Linked DNA regions of Homo sapiens: region 1 is linked to region 2. The links are contacts of gene promoters, found by promoter capture Hi-C in blood cells and fetal thymus (Javierre and others, 2016). All regions are on one chromosome and are shown on one strand. The core of a region is centred on a gene start or on the middle of the fragment in contact, and the rest is flanking DNA. Distances in the headings are between cores, read along the strand shown.

The links. The method cuts DNA at HindIII sites, captures the fragments that hold promoters and counts their contacts. A CHiCAGO score of 5 or more calls a contact.
Region 1: a contact is called between a fragment that was not itself captured here and the fragment with the promoter of SLC66A2 in region 2, in 1 of 17 cell types (neutrophils). The highest score is 7.2, in neutrophils.

Annotation. Positions count from the first base shown.
Region 1 is chr18:80,037,319-80,043,502 of GRCh38, reverse strand. RBFA (ribosome binding factor A) reads right to left here. Exons shown (of 7, transcript NM_024805.3): 3 at 5,997-6,173; 4 at 4,886-4,998; 5 at 1,284-1,368. Among named protein-coding and RNA genes, the nearest start is that of RBFA, 6.0 kb to the right of the region's middle. The HindIII fragment of the contact is 3,769 bases long and covers 139-3,907 here.
Region 2 is chr18:79,949,403-79,955,366 of GRCh38, reverse strand. SLC66A2 (solute carrier family 66 member 2) reads left to right here and starts at 3,714. Exons shown (of 6, transcript NM_025078.5): 1 at 3,714-3,786; 2 at 4,342-4,643. The coding sequence starts at 4,441. LOC124904336 (a long non-coding RNA gene) reads right to left here and starts at 2,558. Exons shown (of 2, transcript XR_007066429.1): 1 at 2,288-2,558; 2 at 1-2,091. RefSeq lists silencers at 3,183-3,232, 3,363-3,872, 4,193-4,272, 4,313-4,432. The HindIII fragment of the contact is 12,677 bases long and covers 1-5,964 here.

The DNA of each region.
Region 1 (6,184 bases), core at 774-3,273, 90 kb before region 2:
CTCCCCAGGGAACACCTTGCTCATGCCCTCACAGCACACTGCCATGACCTGAACTGTCCCTGATTCCTTACGGCAGGGACTATAACTTCACTCCTTCGTTTCTTTTTCTAGCAAGGGAAATCACGAATCTGTCAAGCTTATTACTTGTACAATGTTTTTAGTGTTACCTACACACTGATTAACGAAAACCAAAAATGTCAAACTGGATCTTTTTCTTCTGTGGATCCAAATGCTGTCTGGTCCTATACTGAACAACAGTTACCTATAATACTGCAAACGCTATTCGCTGATTTTTGACTGACTTTTTGAAGGTATAACATATCTTAATAACTGCCAGGTAACCACCACCCAGAGAAGTATATATTTACATGTTTTTAATCTTTATAGCTAACCCATCTCTAAAGCAAGGAAAATGATAATAAAAGCACTTAAGGTTACAGGACAGACCTAAGTCTCATAAGCCCCAATAATGTGAAACGAAAGTGGACTGATCCATTTCGAGAGGTGGGAGGGGGAGACAGGCGTGGGAGGGCAACTCTGGCCGTGTTGAGTTCATACCCTAGTTAGAGCTACAGTGATAAGCATAAAAAAATTAAAACCAGAAACAGCAACTACTTCTGGGGACCTGGCTGGGAACAGGGGCACAGGAGAAAGGGACAGCCTTTTCATTTGCACCTTTCTTTCATTACTTTTCATTTGTTCCCTTCTCAGTGGTTTCTTCTCTTTTTTTTTTTTGACACGGAGTCTCTCACTCTGCTGCCTGGAGTGCAGTGGCACAATCTCGGCTCACTGCAACCTCCGCCTTCCCGGTTCAACTGATTCTTCTGCCTCAGCCTCCCGAGCAGCTGAGACTACGGGCGCACGCCACCACACCTAGCTAATTTTTTTGTATTTTTAGTAGAGACAGGGTTTCACCGTATTGGCCAGGCTAGTCTCTAACTCCTGACCTTGTGATCCACCTGCCTCGGCCTCCCAAAGTGCTGGGATTACAGGCTTGAGCCACTGCACCTGGCCTCTTCTCTTTTTTAACTGTACATTATCTTTTCAGGATTTAAAACTTAAATTTAAAACTTTATTCATATAAGCGTTTATGTTATAAAAAGTTAATTATTACCTGGGCCCGGTGGCTCACACCTATAAATCCCAGCACTTTGGGAGGCTGAGACAGAAGGATCCCTTGAGGCCAGGAGTTCAAGACTAGCCTGGACAATATAGCAAGACTCTGTCTCTAATTAAAAAAATAAAAATTTTTAAATTTTAAAAAGTTTTTTTGAAAACCTTACCTCAGCTAGAGCTGCATTTCCCTTGTCTTGAACAAACACTATCGGTGGCACATTCCTCAGGGTCTGCTGGGACATCAAAAGGTGCCTAGGAGACAGAACGCACAGACCCTCACAGCTGTGCCGTGACACTCAGTGGAGAGGCGTGACAGTGCTGAACATATGATTCAAGATGTAACCAAGAGGCAGGAGTGAGAGGCCGGGCGCGGTGGCTCACGCCTGTAATCCCAGCACTTTGGGAGGCCGAGGCGGGCGGATCACGAGGTCAGGAGATCGAGACCATCCTGGCTAACATGGTGAAACCCCGTCTCTACTAAAAATACAAAAAATTAGCCAGGCGTGGCGGCAGGCACCTGTAGTCCCAGCTACTCGGGAGGCTGAGGCAGAAGAATGGCCTGAACCCGGGAGGCGGAACTTGCAGTGAGCCAAGATAGTGCCACTACACTCCGGCCTGGGTGAAAGAACAAGACTCGGTCTCAAAAAAAAAGAAAAAAAAAAAAAAGAGGCAGGAGTGAGATTTATCGTATTACTCAAAAATGAAAACCTCAGCCCAGAAGAGTCATCTTTAGTCAACTACCACATCAAAAAAGGGATGCAAAATGCATCATAACTGCAATTGCCTTGACTTTTCTCAACGCAACTTGTGCGATCTGTACAAATAACCTGATCTGAACTCATCGCCGTAGCCTTGGGCTCCAGGGTCTGTGCACTAACAGCCTGTCCTCCTGTGCCCAGTGGACACGCCCTGGCACGACACAACCCTCAGGTTCCCAGATATTAGACACAGAAGTGATATTTGTATCATGCACATCACATAATACAGACCTAGGGCCAATGTAGGCACGGCACATATAACCAGCGAAAGCCGTGACCACAGATCTTTGGTACACAGCTATGGAAAACGGTGACCCTAAATCTTGGGTGACCGCAGGAGTTGGGAAGAGGGACATTCAGCTCAACTGAATTTTCTGATACCTAAAAATCAGAAAACAATGCTGTTTCAACACTTGTCAATAATCTCTCATTTTCTTGCTTTTGTTAAACAGTAAGAAATAAGCATTCTCTGATATGCAGTTTCACAGACCCCTGGGCATCATCGTGTGTGGTAATGATGCAGGGAAGCCAGGCAGGGTGCCTGGAACGAAGCCCACACACGGCCACCTTTTCTACGTCTGTCCCCACCCTAAACATGGGGCATGATGAGAAGGGAGGCAGAAAGGAGGAATTCCAGTTCTGAGAGAGCTGGACAGTGAGCTGGATTTGGATTTCTGCATTTTTTAAAACTGAGGAGGAAACTGAATAATTTCTTTATTATCATCCAGCTCAGCAATTCCCAAAATTGTTGGTCCCAGGATCCTTTACATTCTTAAAAATTACTGAAGATCCCAAAGAGCATTTGTTTATGTGGGTTCTATCTATCAATATTTACTATACTACAAACTAAAACTGAGAACTCTAAAAGCTACGTCTTTTTAAAGTCGCTTAAAAACCCACTAAATGCTTACATAGACATTTTTAACAAAAAATATATATATACACTCCCCCCCACAAAATCAATGAAAAGCATGGAATTGTTTATGTATTTGCAAATTCTCCAAGGCCAGCTTCATGGAAGACAGCTGGGATCTCACTGCTGCTTCTGCACTCTGTCCTTCCTCTCACTGAAATACAAGAAGAGCCAGCGCAGTAGCTCATGCCTGTAATCTCAACACTTTGGGAGGCTCAGGCCAGAGGATCGCTTAAGCCCAGGAGTTGGAGACCAGCCTAGACAACATAGAGAGATCCTATCTCTACAAAAAATACAAAATTAGCCAAGTGTGGTGGCATGCACCTGTGCTTCCAGCTGTATGGGAAGCTGAGGCAGGAAGATCACTTGAGCCTGGGAGGTTGAGGCTGCAGGAGCCAAGATTGTGTCTCTGCACTCCAGCCTGGGAGACAGAATGAGATCCTGTCTCAAAAAAAGCAAAAAAAAAAAAAAAAAAATTCAGGCCTCCCAGTTATGTGTTGGAAAAGACAGAATTTAACAGCCATGAGAAAAGTATGGATCTTCTTTGTCACAAAAATTCAACAAATGTACTTTATTAAAGGTCAGTTGTCCCGGCCTGGCCAATATAGTGAAACCTCATCTCTACTAAAAATACAAAAATTAGCTGGGCATGGTGGCGGGCGTCTGTAACCCCAGCTACTCAGGAGGCTGAGGCATGAGAATCACTTGAACCCGGGAGGCAGAGGTTGCAGTGAGCCAGTATCACTCCACTGCCCTCCAGCCTGGGCGACAGAGCAAGACTCCATCTCAAATAAATAAACATATAAATAGTTGCAATGAGGAATCTGAAACCACACCCAACCAACCTGTCACACTCTGCTACATTAAAACTCACCATCTGGCTCACACTTTGAATTGATCTCTCAGCGTATGGTTTTGTAACCTCATGCACTGGTCATTTGGAAAACAACAGCTCACCTAGTTATGCAGATTTTAAAAGCATTGACACAGTTTATCATACAACAGCACGTTTGTTAAGGTCGCTGCCAATCTCATCAGAAGAGTCTCAAGTACCTAGAAGTTGTCAAGCTCACAGTGGTGAATACAAGTTTCCTAAAATTCTGATTTTCACTTGAAAGCTTAAATTTTATCACTGGCAACAGATATGGTCTGTTGTTTGCTCCGGAGTGGTAGGTTCACTCGCTTATTTTTGAAAGAATGTCTGCCAAACACCCAAACCTAAACAGTCTGCTCACTGATGCTTTTCTGTTCAGCATTCTCCAGACAGCAGGTGATTTACATGTACTTCCCATTACAAAAAATATGAAAAAGGCATGCTCAAGGGTCAAGATTTAATACAATTAATAATTTTTGATAAACTGTCTCGGATTTTTTAATTTTTCTTTGAGAAACAGGGTCTTGCTCCGTTGCCCAGGCTGGAATGCAGGTACATTAACACGGCTCACTGCCACCTCAAATTCCTGGGCTGATAGGAATCCAGGGGATACCTCCCACCTCAGCCTCCTGAGTAGGTGGGACTATATGCGTGTGCTGCCACTGTGCCTGGTTAATTTTTTAATTTTTTGTAGAGACAGGGTCTCGCCATCTTGCCCAGACTGGTCCTGAACTCCTGGCCTCAAGTGATCCTCCCGCCTCGGCATCCCGAGTTGCGGGGATTACAGGTGAGAGGCACCATGTCCAGCCTCATCTGGGATATTCTTAAGTAAAAGTAACATTGTCTTTTACTCTAGGCATGTGGCATGGCGCCCCTACAGCACTGGCTGGCAGCATGGCACCAGCAGTCTTCCCTCATGGTTTCTGTACCCTCAGTGCAAATGTCAACACAGCAGGAGAGGTGAAATAACGTCTTACCCTAATGAACTCCCTGACAGGATCTCCAGATCCCTAGTGATCCTGGCACACTTTAATAAATGCTAACCTACATTATAGCTTATACAAAAATGCAAATTATACTATGAACTTCAAGAAAATGCCTCCAAAATTTTCTTTAAAAGCAAAAATACTCAATGAAAAGTTCAAGTCCACCTACAAGTGAAACAGCTGAGAAATTTAGGGTATGAGCAAAAAGCAAGTACATTCAGAAAGCAAAGGTCATCACCTCATGTGCGCGGCACTTCTCTGCAGGACAGCCTCCATGTGTGCGTTCTGCTCAGCAGAGAGCGTTGTCTTCCAGTACGCTCGGCAGGCTGAGAAGTCTGGAGTCAGGGAAACCTGAGACCCCGCCCCTCCACAGGTCACTTTTTAGCTTACATGGGTTTTCAAGACAAACAACATCCAGGAGATGAAAACGACAGCTGCAGACGCCCCTCCCACCCAAGCCAGGGCTCTGGCATGCTGCTGGAGGCCACCTCCTGCTGCCGCACCATGTCCCCAGGTGAAGTAGGGCCCCAGAAACCAAAACCTCCCTCCTCTCTTCACCAGGACCCGCAAACCAAACCACCTGGTTTGCAGAACCAAACCGGAACCCTGACCCCACGCTTGCCTCACAGCCACTTGCCCTGAGACACTAATCAAAAATGCTCGATGCTGCCTTTTCTCCTTACAACTCACTGAGTGGGTCAGAGGAAGTCATCTCCTGTACCTCTGTACTGAGGTACATGCAGATGCATCCTCTTCCCACGGCAGGCTTAGACCTTCTACTATCTGACAATGTGCCAGGTGCTGTTTGGTCACAGGACTCCCGCCTTGCAGTGAGACATCTGCCTCTGCACAGCACAGACACTCACCATCTGTCTCCAGGGCTCCAATGACCAGACTGAGCATCATTTCTATTTCTGCAACCCAGAACTAAGACTTCATAAGTGCTAAAGTGGCTTTTTTTTTTTTTGAGATGGAGTCTCGCTCTGTCACCCAGGGTGGAGTGCAGAGGCGCGGCCTCAGCTCACTGCAACCTCCGCCTCCTGGGTTCAAGCGATTCTCCTGCCTCAGCCGCCCGAGTAGCTGGGACTACAGGCGCCCGCCACCATGCCCGGCTAAGTTTTTGTATTTTTAGTGGAGATGGGATTTCACTGTGTTAGCCAGGATCGTCTCAATCTCCTGGCCTCGTGATCCGCCCGCCTCAGCCTCCCAAAGTGCTAGGATTACAGGCGTGAGCCACCGCGCCCAGTCTAAAGCGTCTTTTTTTAATTGTCAGGCAAGACTGGGCCAGGTAAAGTAAGTGCCAGGCCTGCTGTCTCAACCCATTTCTTCTCTTTGGCCACACAGCCTACCTTGGAGAGCTCCACGTTAAGGTCATACAGCTCCTGACTCACTTCAGGGGTACACAGCAGGTCTGTCAGTGCCTTATAGAGGAGGCCGTTCAGGGCCCTCAGGCGCGCATGGTCTTCCTTCCTGGTTTTCTTTGAGGTGCTCCTCATGAGGAATTCCAACTTGGATGGTTTGTAAGTCTCCATCAGGA
Region 2 (5,964 bases), core at 2,465-4,964:
TCTCCTTGAATTTCAGTTTGGGAAGTTTCTGTTGACTTATCTTCATATTCACTGATTCTTTCCTTCATTCTGTCTAGTCAACTAATGAGCATTCTTTATTTCTATTGTGTTTTTGACTTCTAGCATTTTTTTTTTATTATTGTTTCCATCTTTCTGCTGATATCACCTATCTGGTCTTGCATGTTGTCTAATTTTTCTGCTAAAGCCAGTTTATCCAGGAGTTTCTGCTCTGGGTGAGCAGCTCTCAGGTGCTGTCTCTCCCTGGATGTGCCTGTCTCTTCAGAGCAGGGTGCCAGTTTGTCTGGCAGCCTTAGTTCTCTGATGGGCCCATGAAAGGCTGCCCTGCTATTCTTTGCTGTAAGGATGGGGGTGGTGACTGCCAAGCACGTCACATGACACCAGTTGAAGTTGCGGAACTTCTGAGCCAGGCTCCTAAAGTGAGACTTCCAATCCACCTTCCGTACAGGTTTCCTTAAAAAATGGGGTGCGCGACCAGCAAGGTGGCTCACTCCTGTAATCCCAGCACTTTGGGAGGCCTAGGTGAGAGGATCCTTTGAAGCCAGGAGTTCAAAGACCAAACTGGCCAACATAGTGAGCTCCCCGTCTCTATAAAATAAATAAATAAAATAAAAAGAAATAGGCTGAGTGAGAAACAGTGGCTCCAATCTTCCTCTGATGTCCCAGCTCTCAGAACAAGGTTGCTTTGTTTGCTTTTCCTTTTATAAGCACCATGTGTTAGGCAAATTCTTAAGTGGTTCCCTGAGGTATTCATGCTCCTACGTGACACCTTAATCTGCACCGGGCCAACCCAGTGACCTGTTTCTCATGAGCAGAGCCTGGAAAGCATGAGGCACAGCTCTGCTTCCTCTGTGTCACAGCTCTGATCTTGTCAGTCACTCATTGGCTCCTGCAACAAATGACCACAGCTAAGTGGCTTTTACAACAGCAGAAGTTTATTCCTTCACAGCTCTGGAGGCCAAAAGTCCAAAATCACTTTTAATGTGCTGAAATCAAGGCATTGGCAGGGCCAGGCTCCCTCGCATGGCTCCTGGGGAGAATCTGCTCCTTGTTTCTGGGGCCTCTGGTGGCTCCGGCGTTACTTGGCTTGGGACTGCATCACGTCAATTTTCAAGGCCCCATCTTCATCTCTGCTCCATCTTCCCATGGCCCTCTCTTCTGTGTGGCACCAAATTTCCTTCTGCCTCCCTCTTACAAAGATGCATGTGGCCGGGCACGCTGGCTCATGCCTGTCATCCCAGCACTTTGAGAGGCCAAGGCAGGAGGATCGCTTGAGGCCAGGAGTTCAAGACCAGCCTGGCCAACACAGAGACCCTGTCTCTGTTGTATGTATTTATTTTTGAGATAGGGTCTCACTTTGTCACCGAGGCTAGAGTGCAGTGGTGCGATCCTGGCTCACTGCTGCCTCAACCTCCTGGCCTCAAGCAATCCTTCCACCTCAGGAGTAGCTGGGACTACAGGTGCACACTACCATGCCCAGATAATTTTTCTATCTTTTGTAGAGACGAGGTCTCACCATGTTGCTCAGGCTGGTCTCGAACTCCTGGGCTCAAGAGATTTACCTGCCTCAGGCTCCCAAAGTGCTGGGATTATAGGCGTGAGCCACAGTGTTTAGGGCCCACCTGGATAATCCAGGACAATCTCTCTATCTCAAGATCCTTAATGACATTAGAAAAAAAAATTGTTTTCCCATACGAGGTAATATTTACAGGTTGCCTGGATTAGGACTTGATGGCTTTATAAGGGCCATTTTCCAGCTGTGCATGGCTTGGTCGGCTTCTCTTGTTTGCAGGAAGCTATGTGACAAGCGCAGCACCTGCAATGAGCTGTGATTGGCTGATGTAGACTGGGGGTGGGGGCTCGGACCCCCGGCAGGTGGTGTTCGAAAAGGTACAAACTCACTCTGCAGTCATCAACTCACCTTTCGGGGTGCCTCTGAGGCGTGAGGCCTGTGGGGTGACGTCCGAGCATGCCAGATTTCGTCCACTGAGCCGGGCTCCTGGAGGCCCCGTGCACAGATGCAGCTCTAGGCCCCAGGCTGCGGGCACAATTTGCCCCATGCCTCCACAGCCTCTGGATTTAAGATAACCGAGGATAGCGTCTGGGACCCCAGTGCTCCCGTGAGGGTCAAGGAGGTCCGGAGCTTACTCCAACCTCCAGGGCAGAGAGGACAGATGATCCCAAAGGCTGCTGGGCTCAGGCTAGGGCGCGGCTGAGCAGGGGCAGCTGCTTTTTCTCTCCCAGGCTTCCTGCTGTGCCTTTTACTCACCTCTACGTTCCTGGTGCTGGGGCTCCGCAGCGCTGGCTCTAAAGAAGTTCCAACGCCAGCCTGGGGGCGCAAGGCAGGAGCGCCCTGTTTCCTCGATTGTTGGGGATTTGCTCCTAGTTAGGTGGTGACTGTCCTTATGATCCCCCATAAAACCAGTCGGGCAGGGGGCAGGGGGCAGGGGGCCGGGATCGTGGAGAAGAGGCCGCGGCTGGCGGGGAAGCAACCCTCAGCGTGGACCCCTCAACCTCGCGGCTCGCCCCTTACCCGTGCACCCCTCGCCTCACACCCCCGCGCCCCTCACCCACGCGTCCCTCACCCTACACACACCCGCCCATCACTCGCGCACCCTTCACCCCTCACCCACGCTCCCCTCACCCTTCACCGGCGCGCCCCTCACCCCTCACCCCTCACCCAGGCGCCCCTCACCCTTCACTCGCGCATCACTCACCCCTCACCCCTCACCCACGCTCCCCTCACCCCTCACCCCTCACCCGCGCTCCCCTCACCCCTCACCCGCGCGCCCCTCACCCCTCACCCGCGCTCCCCTCACACTTCACCCGCGCTCCCCTCACTCTTCACCCGCGCGCCCCTCATCCACGCGCCCCTCGCCCTCAGTCCTCACCCGCGCGGGCCAAGAGGGTCCCGGGCGAGGGCAGCTCCCCGCGGGCGGGTGTGGGGCTCGGAGTTGGCTTGGCACGCGAGGCCGGCAGCAGGGCCCGGGCTTCACGCACGCCTGGCCCCCGAGTCTGTCTTGAGGCTCAGGAGCTGCCTTTTCTGCAAATAGGCGCCCAACGGTTCAGCCCGGAGAACTACACGGGGATGGGGAGAGGCCGCCCCGCGTTTCTGCAGCGACAGCGACCGTGGCCGCAACCACGATAATGACAATGGCCACGGTGACGGCCGCGCGTCCAGCCGGCCCCCCGGCGACGGCCCCGGCGCATCTGCTCGTGGGGCACTTGCATCGGAGCGGAGACCCGCGGGGGGCGCTCCGTTTCCCGAGACCCCGGCCGCCTCTGGGCGCTGCAAACTCCGAGCCGGGTCCCCGGGTCTCCTGGGTCAGGACAGAGCTGGACGAGACTCGTCCCCGGGTGGCCCGCATTCAGGACACGCGTGAGAGGGGCGTCCGGACCCCGCGCCCCCGGCCCTCCAGGACGACGCCCTCCGCTTGGATGGCCGCGCGCCGGGACAGCTGGAGACGGGTTAACGTGGGCGCCAGGCCTGAGGGACCGGCCCCGCCCGGCTGGTATTTCCCGACCGGGCGGGAGGAGCCACGCGCCCCCACCGCCCCGACAGCCCCGGCTCCCGGCCCCGCCTGCGCCCGCCCTGCCCAGCGCGCTCTAGGACACCGCGGCGCCTCCGCGCAGCTCCGGCGTGGGCGGGGCCCGGCATTGTGACGTCACGGGGCGGGGTTTCCCGGCGCCTGAGCGGACTGACGCCGAGACGCGCGCGGGTCAGCGGCGCGGGGACGCGGGGCGCTGGGCGCGGGGCTGGGGGCGCAGGTAAGGAGCGCGGGGGCGGCGCGGGGTCCTCGGGGGGCGGCCTAGGGCGGCCGAGGACGCAGGGCCGGGGCAGTTGGTCGCGGCCTTCAGTCCCCTGGCTTGGTCCTGTGGGGTCCCCGGCCCGGCACCTCCTCCCGCGAGCCGTGCGCCCCCATCCTGGGCCTGCGCCCCCTTCCCCCGAGCCGTGCGCCCCCATGCTAGGCCCTGTGACCCTCCCCCGAACAGTGCGCCCCGATCCTGGGCCCTGCGCCCCCTCCCCCACCCCATCCCGGGGCGCGCGTGGACCCCCGCCGGCTAAGCGCACCCGGGCGGTGACCCCAGGGGCTTCGCCCGTCCTCGACCCCGGCGCTGGGACCCCTCCCCAGCCCCCTCCGGGAGCGTCTCGGGACCCCCAGACACCCCCCCGTCCCAGGCAGGGGCCGCTCCTCGCGCGCCCCGGGCCCCGGTCGCCCCCGCTCTGCCTCGGGTCCTGCGGCTGGCGCGGGTCGGGTCGGGTCCGTGCGCGCCGCCCCAGCCTCCCTGGGCGGAACTCGAGCAGCTCCCCGCTCCCCGCAGGCCCCGAGGCCGCAGGAGCGCGCGGAGCGGCGATGAGCAGGCGGCCGGTGGCCCGCGGGGCGCGGAGCCCGTGACAGCCTCGGCCAGGCGGGCGCTGCGATGGAGGCCGAGGGCCTGGACTGGCTCCTGGTGCCACTGCACCAGCTGGTGTCCTGGGGCGCGGCCGCGGCCATGGTCTTCGGAGGGGTGGTGCCCTACGTCCCGCAGTATCGGGACATTCGCAGGACGCAGAACGCCGACGGCTTCTCCACCTACGTGTGCCTGGTGCTGCTGGTGGCCAACATTTTGCGGATACTCTTCTGGTAAGTTGGGGGCTTGCTTTCCTGGGCTGCACCCGGAGAAGAGGGTTTCTCCTTTGGGGTTTCTGGTTGAGGCCGGGGGAGCAGCAGGGTCCACACCTCCCTGCTGGGCCAGCGTCCCACTCTGCCGTGGATGGGGTACGTGGCTGCAGGCAAGTCACTTCTTAGGGTGAGATTATTTTTCCAGAAAAACGGTGGGGTTGGAGCACAGAATCTCAGAGAAAATCTCCAGATCCGCCTCCTTGCATGATGTTCCACATGGGTACTTAGCAGGGACCTCTCAGCTGGGCACTGGCCTAGGCCTGCCTGTGGAGAGGAGCCGTTCCTGCCCTCCTTTTTCATGTTGTATAGTTTTTCTTTGTTGTTTTGAGAGAGGGTCTTGCTCTGTGGTCCAGGCTGAAGTGCATGATGACATGACAGCTCACCGCAGTCTCCACGTTCCTGGGCTCAGGTGATCCTCCCATCTCAGCCTCCCGAGTAGCTGGGACCACAGGCGCACCACCACACCCGGCTAATTGTTTTTTTTGTATTTTTTGTAGAGACAGGGGAGTGGGGGGTTGTCTCACTTTGTTGCCCAGGCTGGTCTCGAACTCCTGGCCTCAAGCATCCCTCCCCACTGGGCCTCTGAAAGGGCTGGGATTACAAGCTGAGCCACGGCGCCTGGCCTGCCTTATTTAAATAGGAAGTCACTCTCTCTGGAGACTGTCTTGTTCCTCTCCCCAACTTCCTCTTTGTATTTGTATTAGGCTAAGGAAATTGAAATTAATTTTAACAGTTGTTGAAGGCAGACATAATTGGGAGGGTGAGTTTTCAGAGGAAATGAGGTCTCACAGCTGCATTCTAAGGCCAAAAACGTCTGAAATTTTTCTTTCTTCTGGGTGATCCCAGCCTCTCTGTCCGGGCAGATTGGAAGGTGTCTGCTGCTCTTCCTATGAAGAGGGCCTGGTGGAGGGGTGGAGAGAAGGAGTCCAGGCAGCTGGTGTCAAGAACTCTGCTTCTGACTCTGGTCACTGAGTAATCACGTACCTGCTTCTTTGCCTGTTAGTTTTGTTTTGTTTTTTTTTGAGACAGAGTCTTGCTCTGTCGCCAGGCTGGAGTGCAGTGGTACAATCTCGGCTCACTGCAGCCTCTGACTCCTGGGTTCAAGTGATTCTCCTGCCTCAGCCTCCTGAGTAGCTGGGACTACAGGTGCCTGCCACCATACCCAGGTAATTTTTGTATTTTTAGTAGAGACCAGGTTTCACCATGTTGACCAGGATGGTCTCGATCCCTTGACCTCATGATCCACCCACCTTGACCTCCCAAAGTGTTGGGATTACAGGCG